2 separate regions of the Homo sapiens genome follow, and region 1 is linked to region 2. Evidence: promoter capture Hi-C in human tissues and cell types (Jung and others, 2019). All regions are on one chromosome and are shown on one strand. Each heading gives the region's core, a stretch centred on a gene start or on the middle of the fragment in contact. The rest is flanking DNA. Distances are from core to core; before and after follow the strand shown.

Region 1 (5,611 bases), core at 1,538-4,037, 380 kb before region 2:
TCTGTACAAAGCCATTACCTTGGGTGTTTTTTTTTTTTTCCTTTTTTTTTTTGACAGAGTCTCCCTCTGTCATCCAGGCTGGAGTGCAGTGGCGTGATCTCAGCTCATTGCAACCTCCGCCTCCTGGGTTCAAGTGATTCTCCTACCTCAGCTTCCTGAGTAGCACATGCCACCATGCCCAGCTAATTTCTGTATTTTTAGTAGAGATGGGGTTTCACCATTTTGGCCAGGCTGGTTTCGAACTCACAACCTCAGGTGAACTGCCTGCCTCAGCCTCCCAAAGTGCTGAGATTACAGGCGTGCATCACTGCACCCGGCCTACCCTGGGCTTTTTAAGTAACATGTAGGCTCTATGCCTTAGAGGGTTATGATGCTAACAGAAAAAAAACACTTTCAGATTAAGAAAATTGATCAAAAGAAAGAACAGTGGCAAGTTTCCTTAAGCATTATCTCTCAATCACAATGGGGGATCAACAATTCCAGTCAACAACCTACTCACACAGCTATCCTTAGAGACAATTAAGCCACAGCCTATTCACACAGAAGTGTACTGTTTTAAAATGAGCTTTAAACACCAAAGGGGGAAAAGGTTCTAATGCCCACTTCAAACCCACATTAACTTCAATTCATTTAATATTTACTGAATATTGTGGCACCAGGAGACATGCTGGATCTTGAAGACACAAAAACAATTAACCAAAAATTACAACCTATTTGGTAAATGTTATAAAAGAATGTACAAGATAAAGACAAAGCAAAGAAAGAGTGTAGTTAACTGTCACAGAGGGAACTGGGACTAAGAAAGGCTTCACAGGAGAAGTTATCACCTGAACTGAATTTTGACAGATGAACAGAAGTTCCTGGGCCGAAAAGAGAACACAGAGGTGTGAGGTATGGCTGAATAGTACAAAGAGGCTGCTTTTACAAGTAAAAATGTGATAATGGGGAAAGGAGGGAAGCTGTGATCCTTGGTCCCTGCCACGTTGTCAGACAGCTTCATGTCATGCTAAACAATCTGATCTTCATCATAGAAGTAGTGAAGAAACACTGAAGGGCTTTAAGCTGATGAATGACATGATCAGTTTCTTTCTTTCTTTCTTTCCTGCTTGCTTTCCAGCAGACCTTATTCCCAAATAGTTCTAAAATAGTCTCTGAAACACTTGGCCATCAACCAATAAACTGATAAATACAGGATGATATGAGAAAATGCAATGATATGAAACTATCATTCTCACATGCAATTTAATTATAATTTAATTCCAGCAATTCAAACACTGAAAGAACACAAAGTTAAATTGGGCAGTTCTACTAAACACTACTATCATTACTTCCACAGTAGCTGGTGGGGAATTCTCAGTTGCTGGGATTTTATAGGTGTTTCCCCCCTTTCCCCTCCCCATCACGACTACTCAAATCCAAGTGGACCCTTCTGAACAGAGTGCTACATAGTATGAAAGAACAGCATTGCCTCTTTCCTTAATGAATCTGGTGTGTATCTTTAGCTGATAGACAGAAAACTGATGTAACTGCTATAATCATGGCCCAAATCTAGAAGCCAGAAGGGATTCAGGCCAAAACTGCTCCTGGACATAAATGCTTAACTACAAAGAAGAATGATAATAAGAAGTAAAAAATGTCAACTACCAAAAAAAAAATGACAGCCACTGAGTCTTTTTTTAATTGCTGAGTAAAACGAATGAACAAGATTTCAAAGAATCCCAAAATGAAGCCAAAACACAGTCTGCATGGAATTACAGTCCTGAGCTGTTTTAACGTGTCATAATACACTTCTCTGTGCTGGAAGTGGAGTGTAGAAAGCCACAACACTGGCAAGTAAAGAAGGAAGAAGGCATTTGCTGTAAGTACATGAATTTTCAAGCCTTTATTCGTTTCATTTAAGGCTAATGATAGCAGAGCACTGGAAGAACCAGTTCACTGAGAGGACATTCATAACTGAAAAGGGTAAATGTACTCTTGAGAATCAAGAGGCTTCCTTTTCTTCAGTAATACATAGTCCATTATGCAAATCAACATTATACTTAACATCTACACTTATACCACCAAGGAGTCATTAGAGTAACCTCATGCTGTAATGAGAGTCTGCAGTGAGCTCAAAGTGCATCTCATCTTTTGACATTAAGGCCAAGGGAATTATCTCAACTGAGGCAGTTGGTAACTACTAAAGATTGCAGAATAAAAGCCCATTCAGCCTTTATACCTTTATAAAGCTTAATGATACAGCATTACCTAATGCAAATCATTCACTGTTAAACTAAACAATGGACACCTCAGCTGACAACTACACACATCATTTTAAATCAAGCATAAGAGCTGCTTGCTGATCTAGTGTGTTTTGTTGTTGTTGTTTGTTTGTTTTTGAGATGGAGTCTTGCTCTGGTCACCCAGGCTGGAGTGCAGTGGCGTGATCTTGGCTCACTGCCAGCTCCACCTCCCGGGTTCATGCCATTCTCCTGACTCAGCCTCCTGAGTAGCTGGGACTACAGGCACCTGCCACCACGCCCGGCTAATTTTTTGTATTTTTAGTAGAAATGGGGTTTCACCGTGTTAGCCAGGATGGTCTCGATCTCCTGACCTCGTGATCTGCCTGCCTTGGCCTCCCAAAGTGCTGGGATTACAGGCGTGAGCCACCGCGCCTGGCCAAGCCAGTGTTCCTTGAGTGCTAAATTAAGTGAGAAAAGCAGAGCACATAATGCTTTCTCTCCCAATTCTGTATGCCTCTCCTCTCTTTGAGAGCATTAAGTTTTTTGACTTACTTTCTCCATTTACCTTAGAGGGAGAACAGCTGGTAATCACTTACATTAACAAGAGACTCCTTGAACTTGATGTGAAGTCTGTAATTGGAAAGGGCAATGATGGCATCCTCGGCACGGCCCACAAACTCTGTGCTCTCTCCATGAAGTTCAAGGAAAGGAACCTTCGAAATGAAAGAAACCCTTCAGAGTTCTGAAGCAGTTAAAAAAAAAAAAGCTTCAAACATCAGTTGGCTGAATGGATGGTAAATCCTCTGCCACTGAAGTTGAAAACACAGCACATAAGTAGATAAGGAAGCTAAAGAGGATGGGTTTATACCCACCTAATTCAAATATATCTAGTTATTCAAATTCTGAACTACTAAAGGAATGATACAGAGAAGATCATCTTAAACAGTGGATTCTCAGGAAATAAGTCTTGCTAAAATGAGATGTTTTCCAGCTTGCATTTCTACTACATGTATGTTATATATATATATAATATAGTACGTTACACTTAAATCCATTAACTCTGCTATACAGTTAATGCTAAATAAATATTTTACATTTAAAAGTGGCCTATAATTACCTGAAGATTCTCATCCTCCCGGATCAGCTGCTTCCTGGGAAAGATCTGATTGGCCTGGATGCACTCAAGGCTGTGCCGAGTCTCTTCATCCTGGAAAAGTCCAAAACCTTAAAATAATTTCAAAGCTTCTAATCATTCATATTTGGTTTTTCTGCCATATCTGCTAGCATAATCACAATGAAAGTACAAAGACCAAGGTGAACAGGCAGAAAAGCTCAAGGAAACAATATTGATCTTAAAAAGTTTTTCTATCCAATACATTAGTTACATCTAGTCTGAAAACACATTGATGCAAAAAAAATGTCAAAGAGGTTAGAATATTTCTATTAGGCACTAACAGCTTCTTAATACTTTTTTTTCTTTTTTTGAGACAGAATCTCACTATCACCCAGGCAGTGGTGCACTGGTAGTGTAGTGCACAGGTAGTGCGGTGGTGTAATCTTGGCTCGCCGCAACCTCTGCCTCCTGGGTTCAGGCGATTCTCCTGCCTCAGCCTCCTGAGTAGCTGGGACTACAGGTGCGTGCCATAACGCCTGGCTACTATTTTTGTAGAGACGGGGTTTTGCCATGTTGGTCAGGCTGGTCTCCAACTCCTGGCCTCAGGTGATCCAGCTGCCTCAGCCTCCCAAAGTGCTGCGATAACAGACATGAGCCACTGTGCCCAGCCCCACACTACTTTTAAGAGAAACCAAGATATAATGCTTTTTTCTCTTTAAGTTACGATCTTAAATTATTTGAGAGATACATACTGAAATATTTAAAAATGAAAGGTGACATTTGAAATTTGCTTCAAAATAACTGGGGCAAGAGTAAGGAAGAAGCGGGACATAAGTGAAACAGGACTATCTATGAATTAGTAATTCATGAAACTGGGTGAGAGTTCATTATCTCTACCATTGTGTCTACTCTGGTTATATGTGAAATTTTCATAATAGAAAGCTTGAAAACAATTTCTAAGAAAAAGTAAGCTTAAGAACTGAATTTCCCAAGTTGAAAATATATGAAAGACTATCCTTCATTTACTCTGCCTTATATTACAAAATAGATTTCTGTTAAGACAATTTCAAAAGAGGAAGCAATAAATTCTCATCTAGATGACATGTAAATTACAATTTGTATTAAAAAGTAATATTTTGCATTATGAATTTTTATGGTATAGGAAGACATGAGAGAAATGTCATCTATCACAAAGCCTGACTAAATTATAATAGAATCTGTTTACACAGCACTTTTCTTTTTTAAGTCAGGGTTTTGCTCTGTCACCCATGTTGGAGTGCAGCAGCACAATCACAGCTAATTGTAACCTCCAACTCCGGGGCTCAAGTGATCCTCCAGCCTCAGCCTCCCAGGTAGCTGGGACCACAGGCGCCCACCACCATGCCAGGCTAATTTTTTTTATTTTCAGTAGAGACAAGGTCTCGTTATGTTGTCCAGGTTGGTTTCAAACTCCTGGGCTCAAGTAATCCTCCCACCTTAGCCTCCCAAAGTTCTGGGATTACAGGTGTGAGCCACCAAGACTGGCCCCACACAGCAATTTTTAAAAGAGCAAAAGCCACATCATGTTCAACTGACAGCATTAAGAATTATAACCAGTGGTTACTGGTTGCTTCTGTGTACACTACTTAACACAATTCCAATAATTTTGTAAGTCTTCCCCCAAAAAGAGTTTTTCTTCTTATCTATAAACAACACTTAAGGTTTTACTAACAGCAACCATAATCATAAACTGGTAATACTCTACACTAGCATGATTCTCAAAATGAAGTCCACAGACTCTGAGATGCTTACAGGGGCCCTGCGAGGTCAAAACCTTCCCAATAATATTACGGTATTATTGCCTTTCTTCACTGTATTGACATCTATACTAATAGTGCAAAAAAACCTGGTAGGTAAAACTGCTGGTACCTTAGCACAATTGAGACAGTGGTGCCAATTTCATAAGAATGACCTTGATAAAGCAAGGAAATATTATAAATTCTATTTATTAAATCCTGACCCTTAAGTAGAAGTCTTTTTTACAGAGGAAATACAAGTAAAACACCTCTGATGTATGGTGCAATATTACGGTGTCACAAAGTAAAGCACTTGTGCAAATGCTTCAATTAAGAGATGAACTAGCCATTTTTTTTCATTGAGTATCATTCTTAATTGGAAGAACAACTGATGGAAAAACTATGGTAATGCAGACTTGGACATTTGGCAGGTCTTTTTTCCAAAAGACACTATTAGGAAAAAAACAAACAGTAACAACAAAAGATAGTATTAGTTGTCA
Region 2 (5,440 bases), core at 978-3,477:
AAGAAAGCATTTGATTGGGAGCTGGGGGAGCAGTGCCCGGTATTACAGTTTGCAATAGTCTGGAGTAGAAGCTCCACCTCACTAAGCTAGGAGTGAGTAAGGAGGGAATGATCTTGGTTCAAATACCATACCCTCTCATCTTTCTTACCGAATTTGTAGATTTTCTTGAATAGGTGTTTTTTCATTTGTTGTTTGCCCTCAGGACCATTGCCGGAGGGTTTAAATAGTTGATTTTAAAAAAAGAATTTTTGGGCCAGGCGTGGTGGCTGCATCTGTAATCCCATCACTTTGGGAGGCCAAGGCGAGTGGATTGCTTGAGCTCAGGAGTTCAAGATCAGCCTGGGCAACATGGCAAAACCCTGTCTTTACAAAAATTAGCTAGGTGAGGCTGGGCGGGGTGGCTCACATCTGTAATCGCACCACTTTCCCACCACTTTGGGAGGCCCAGGTCGGCTGGTCACGAGGTCAGGAGTTCGAGATCAGCCTGCCCAATATGGTGAAACCCTGTCTCTACTAAAAATAGAAAAATTAGCCAGACGAGGTGGCGCACGCCTGTAATCCCAGCTACCTGGAAGGCTGAAGCAGGAGAATCACTTGAACCTGGAAGTGGAGGTGGCAGTGAGACAAGATCGCGCCATTGCACTCTAGCCCGGTGCACTCTGGGTGACAGAGCGAGACTCCGTCTCAAAAAAAAAAAAAAAAAAAAAATTAGCCAGGTGTGGTGGCACACGCCTGTGGTCCCAGCTACTCGAGAGGCTGAGGCAGGAGGACTGATTGAGCCAGGGAGGTTGGTCAGGGTTGCAGTAAGCCATGATCACACTACTGCATGCCAGCCTCGGTGACAGAGTGAGATTCTGTCTCAAAACGAAACAAAACAAAAAAGAATTTTCACCAGTTTTACAGAGGAATGGGTTCCTTAAGCTGTCATGCTGGAAGCTGATCTTATCTAAGGCTGCTTTTGTGTTACAATGGTAGAGTTGAAGAGTTGAATAACTCCAACAGAGATTCTCTAGTCTACAAAGTTGAAAATATTTACTATGTGGTCCTGTACAGAAAAAGCATGCCAACCCTTGCTTACTGCTGCCAATGCTGCTGGTCCACAAACCACACTTTTAGCAGCAAGAACTTAAATTACTTGAGAAGCAGTACTGTACGGGCTGTGAGCTTGGTTCAAAACCCCACCTTGCCATTTACTAGATAAATGGGTTTGTTCTGAGGATTAAATGTGCAAATGTCTAGCACTTTGAAAATACTGAACAATTGATAGCTGTTATCATCATGTTGGAAACTATGTGGAAAGTAAGTATGAGATGTTATATCGTTCTTCAAAGGGTTTTTTTTCCCAGAATATGCAAGCTTTAGAAAAGGGAAACAAGTATTGGCTTTCCAATAAACAAGACGCAACTTCTAATACCTGGGTACATAACAATATTACCTAATGAAAGAATAAACTTTCAAGCTTTTAAGCGTAAGCCTAACTTAAGCCTGACACTGAAATCCTGAATTTTCTATCACAGGAGCATCCAGCTTCTTCCAATAACAATGAATGAAAATAACCTTCAGGAAATGCCAAAACCCAAAAGTCCTATGAAAAAAAGCAGCAATCATCTTTAACATGAGGTTTTGGGCCTAGTTGGCCCTTCCGGTTCTGCCCGTCTCTAGCTACACCCATAAGATGATATAAAGAGAACCTCTCGAGCTTCCACCTCGACTGTCACCGCAGCAGTCGGGGCTGCCGGCCGGTTACCTCGCAATTGAACTCCATCTCGGCGTCCATGGTGACGATCCTCACGGTGAACGTCTTGGGTTGCTTCCTCTTGAGAGAGCTGAAGCTCATGCGGGAAGCGATGGCCCCGGCCATGGCGCGGGGCTCAGGCCCGGGACCCTCGCGCCCCACGGCCTGCACTCTGAGCCCTTTAGCCCCCCTGGAGTTGCTGCACAGGCCTCAGGGCCACCATGGTGGCCGGCTGCCCGGCCCGGGAACGGTCTGGGCTGCGCGGGTCCCCAGCGGCCAGCATGGGCCGCGAGGACCCTGCCTGAGCGGAAAGGGGAGTTGGGGGACGGGCCCTGACGGCTGCAGGGAGGGCACAGGAGCCGGGACCTTCGGTGCAGGCGCGACCCGGCACTCCGGGATTCGGGCCGGAGATGCCGGGGACGCCTCGGGACGGGACCCCTAGACGGCAGCGGCCCAGACTCCGCGCGCCTCTCAGCGGCCGACTAGGGTCACGGGGCCGCGCTGCATCGGGCGCGTACGCGCGCGCGTGGCTGTCACCGTCCTCACTCCGCGCGCCCGCGGGAAGCGCACCCTCCCCACAGCCCGGGGCCTGCTCCCGGCCCCGCCCTCAGGTCGCCCAGACCACTACGCGCAGCGCAACCGAACCGGAGGCTGACGCATAGATGCTGCGATTGGCTGGGAAGGCCAAGGTAGGCAGGACTTTCCCGCTCCGTCCCGCCTCCTTTGGGGTGACTCCACCAATGGAAAGTTTCACTCTAACTGCAAAAAAAGCAGGCCTAGGCTCGGCGTTGAGTGGCTACAGTGGCAGTCACTCTGAATGCTTTTGTGCCTACTCTAACAAGACTGGTTGAGGCGGCGGACCTCTGCTGACCTTACCCGGGAAACCACTTAGAGGCTGGATCCGGGGCGAGGGGAATTGGGTCCTTCGTTGGCCCAGGGAGGGACTCTTCGGTTCAAGTAGGCTCCGAGTGTGGCGCCCCAGGGGACTGCGTTTCGGACACACGGCGAATATTCTTCTTTGGCAGTTAATCACATATACCGACCCCTATGAAACTTTAAAGACACTTGTGGAGGCCTGTTAGGTTTGCTGGCACTTTCCCGCCAGATCCCTCTGCTTCCCTTTAGAATTATTATTATTATTGTTATTATTATTATTATTAATTATTATTATTATTGGGACGGAGTTTCGCTCTTGTTGCCCAGGCTGGAGTGCAGTGGCGCGATCTCGGCTCACTGCAACCTCCGCCTCCCGGGTTCAAGCGATTTTCCGGCGTCAGCCTCCCGAGTAGCTGGGATTACAGGTATGCGTCACCACGCCCGGCTAATTTTGTATTTTTATTAGAGACGGGGTTTCTCCATGTTCGTCAGGCTGGTCTCGAACCTCAGGTGATCCGCCCGCCTCGGCCTCCCGAAGTGCTAGGATTACAGGCGTGAGCCACCACGCCCCGCCTAGAATTATTATTGGTTATACCTACCTCGTGAGGTTGTTGAATTTCAGCGCACTGAATACATATAAGGCTTTAGAGCTGAGCCTGGCATCCTATGAAATTGCTGAATTTGGGTTGAAAATGAAAGCATTCTTTATTTTATACTCTATGATGCCCATTTTTGAACCGTATTCATGTATTATTTATTTAGTGTCATCAAGGGTTCTAACGGGTGTAGGGGGGATAATTACACCTTTCTGTACTTAGATAATAAATTCTATTTTAAAATAGCTCTTAGTAGTCAAATAGGGACAATTTACTGTGTTTTTTCGTTTGTTTTTTGTTTTGAGACAGAGTTTCGCTCTTGTTGCCCAGGCTGGAGTACAATGGGGCGGTCTCGGCTCTCTGCAACCTCCGCCTCCCGGGTTCAAGCAATTCTCCTGCCTCAGCCTCCCCAGTAGTTGGGATTACAGGCACCCGCCACCACGCCCGGCTAATTTTTGTATTTTTAGTAGGGACGGGGTTTCACCATGTTAGCCAGGCTGGTCTCAAACTTCTGACCTCAGGTGATCTGCCCACCTTGGCCTCCCAAAGTGCTGGGATTACAGGCGTGAGCCACCGCGCCCGGTGTACTGAGTTTTAACAACAATAATCACCCCATAAATGTTAGCTAACATTAGCATCACCCCCCCAACTCCACAGGTGAAGATACTGAGAGATATGATAGAGCCACTCGCTGACTATAATGCAGATAGTGAAAGGCAAAGCTAGGACTCAAACCCAGGTCTGTCCCACCCAGAGCCTGCTGGTTAGCACTGTGCTGCCCTGCTTCCAAATTCTCCCTACTACAGCCTCAGGAAATGTGAATTACAGTTCCGGAGTACTCAGCAGACATTGTTGCTGTAACGGTATATTAATGGAATAAATCTAGTTCTTCTGCACGGACCCCTGCTGTGCCTGGTAGCACCGGCCAGGCCTCAGGAATGATTTGCTGCCACACCCAGTGAGGCTGCTGTGGGGACTTTATGTCCTGCCTTCTGCTAGCAAATTCTCCCCACCAAAACTGATTGCTCAGGGCAGTATGGGCTTGGCATGGGAGTGTCTTCATTATCATTGCTTCATTTCTTCCCCGCAGGTGGGAGAACCGGGCTGGGTTTTCTGGGCTCCCCACAGGGACAACAAATGGCTGCTGATAAAAATACGTGACACCGGGCCGGGCCCAGTGGCTCACGCCTGTAATCCCAGCACTTTGGGAGGCAGGCAGATCACAAGGTCAGGAGATCGAGACCATCCTGGCTAACACGGTGAAACCCTGTCTCTACTAAAAATACAAAAAATTAGCCGGGCGTGGTGGCGGGCGCCTGTAGTCCCAGCTACTCGGGAGGCGGAGGCAGGAGAATGACGTGAACCCGGGAGGCGGAGCTTGCAGTGAGCCGAGATGGCGCCACTGCACTCCAGCCTGGGCGAGAGTGCGAGACTCCGTCTCAAAAAAAAAGGAAAAAGAAAATGCGTGACACTGGGAACCCAGTGAGGAGTAGCAAAAGGAGGTGGATCAGCTAGCAGGGACTAAAAAGCGACACTGATGATTGGTAATAGCTCATTTTTATGAAAAGACTTGCCAGGTGCTAGGCACTGGGCTAATTGGCCCCAAATGCCAAATTTAATGTTCCTGGGAGGACATCCAGCTGGACATATGGGTTTGAATCCCAGAAGGGAGGTCAGGGCCAGGAATAAAAATCGATGTGATAGAATCTTTTGCTGGTATTAAAAGTGCCATTCACAGGTTGGACACAGTGGCTTACACCTGTAATCACAGCACTTTGGAAGACCAAGGTTGGAGGATCACATGAGGCCAGGAGTTCGAGACCATCCTGGGCAGCATAGTAAGACCCCATCTCTACAAAAAAAAGTAAAAATTTAGCCAGTGTGTGCCAGGTGTGGTGGCTCACACCTGTAATCCCAGCACTTTGGGAGGCGGAGGCAGGTGGATCACTTGAGATCAGGAGTTCAAGGCTAGCCTGGCCAACATGGTGAAACCCCGTCTCTACAAAAATACAAAAAAAATTAGCCGGGCGTGGTGGCGCACGCCTGTAATCCCAGCTACTCCAGAGGCTGAGAGAGGAAAATCGCTTGAACCCAGGAGGCAGAGGTTGCAGTGAGCTGAGACCATGCCATTGCACTCCAGCCTAGGTGACAGAACAAGACTTCATCTCAAAAAAAAAGAAAAAAAAATTAGCCTGTGTGGTGGAGTGTGCCTGCAGTCTCAGCTACTCAGTGG

What was found. The method cuts DNA at HindIII sites, captures the fragments that hold promoters and counts their contacts. A contact is called where the count stands out against the background at its distance.
Region 1: a contact is called between a fragment that was not itself captured here and the fragment with the promoter of NF2 in region 2, in 1 of the 25 tissues and cell types used here (dorsolateral prefrontal cortex).

Annotation. Positions count from the first base shown.
Region 1 is chr22:29,976,260-29,981,870 of GRCh38, reverse strand. MTMR3 (myotubularin related protein 3) reads right to left here. Exons shown (of 20, transcript NM_021090.4): 4 at 3,340-3,429; 5 at 2,819-2,935. Among named protein-coding and RNA genes, the nearest start is that of MIR6818, 28 kb to the left of the region's middle. RefSeq lists an enhancer at 2,092-2,141. The HindIII fragment of the contact is 4,354 bases long and covers 611-4,964 here.
Region 2 is chr22:29,600,420-29,605,859 of GRCh38, reverse strand. NF2 (NF2, moesin-ezrin-radixin like (MERLIN) tumor suppressor) reads right to left here and starts at 2,227. Exons shown (of 16, transcript NM_000268.4): 1 at 1,748-2,227. The coding sequence starts at 1,861. RefSeq lists a silencer at 1,882-2,461 and an enhancer at 2,712-2,841. The HindIII fragment of the contact is 17,440 bases long and covers 1-5,440 here.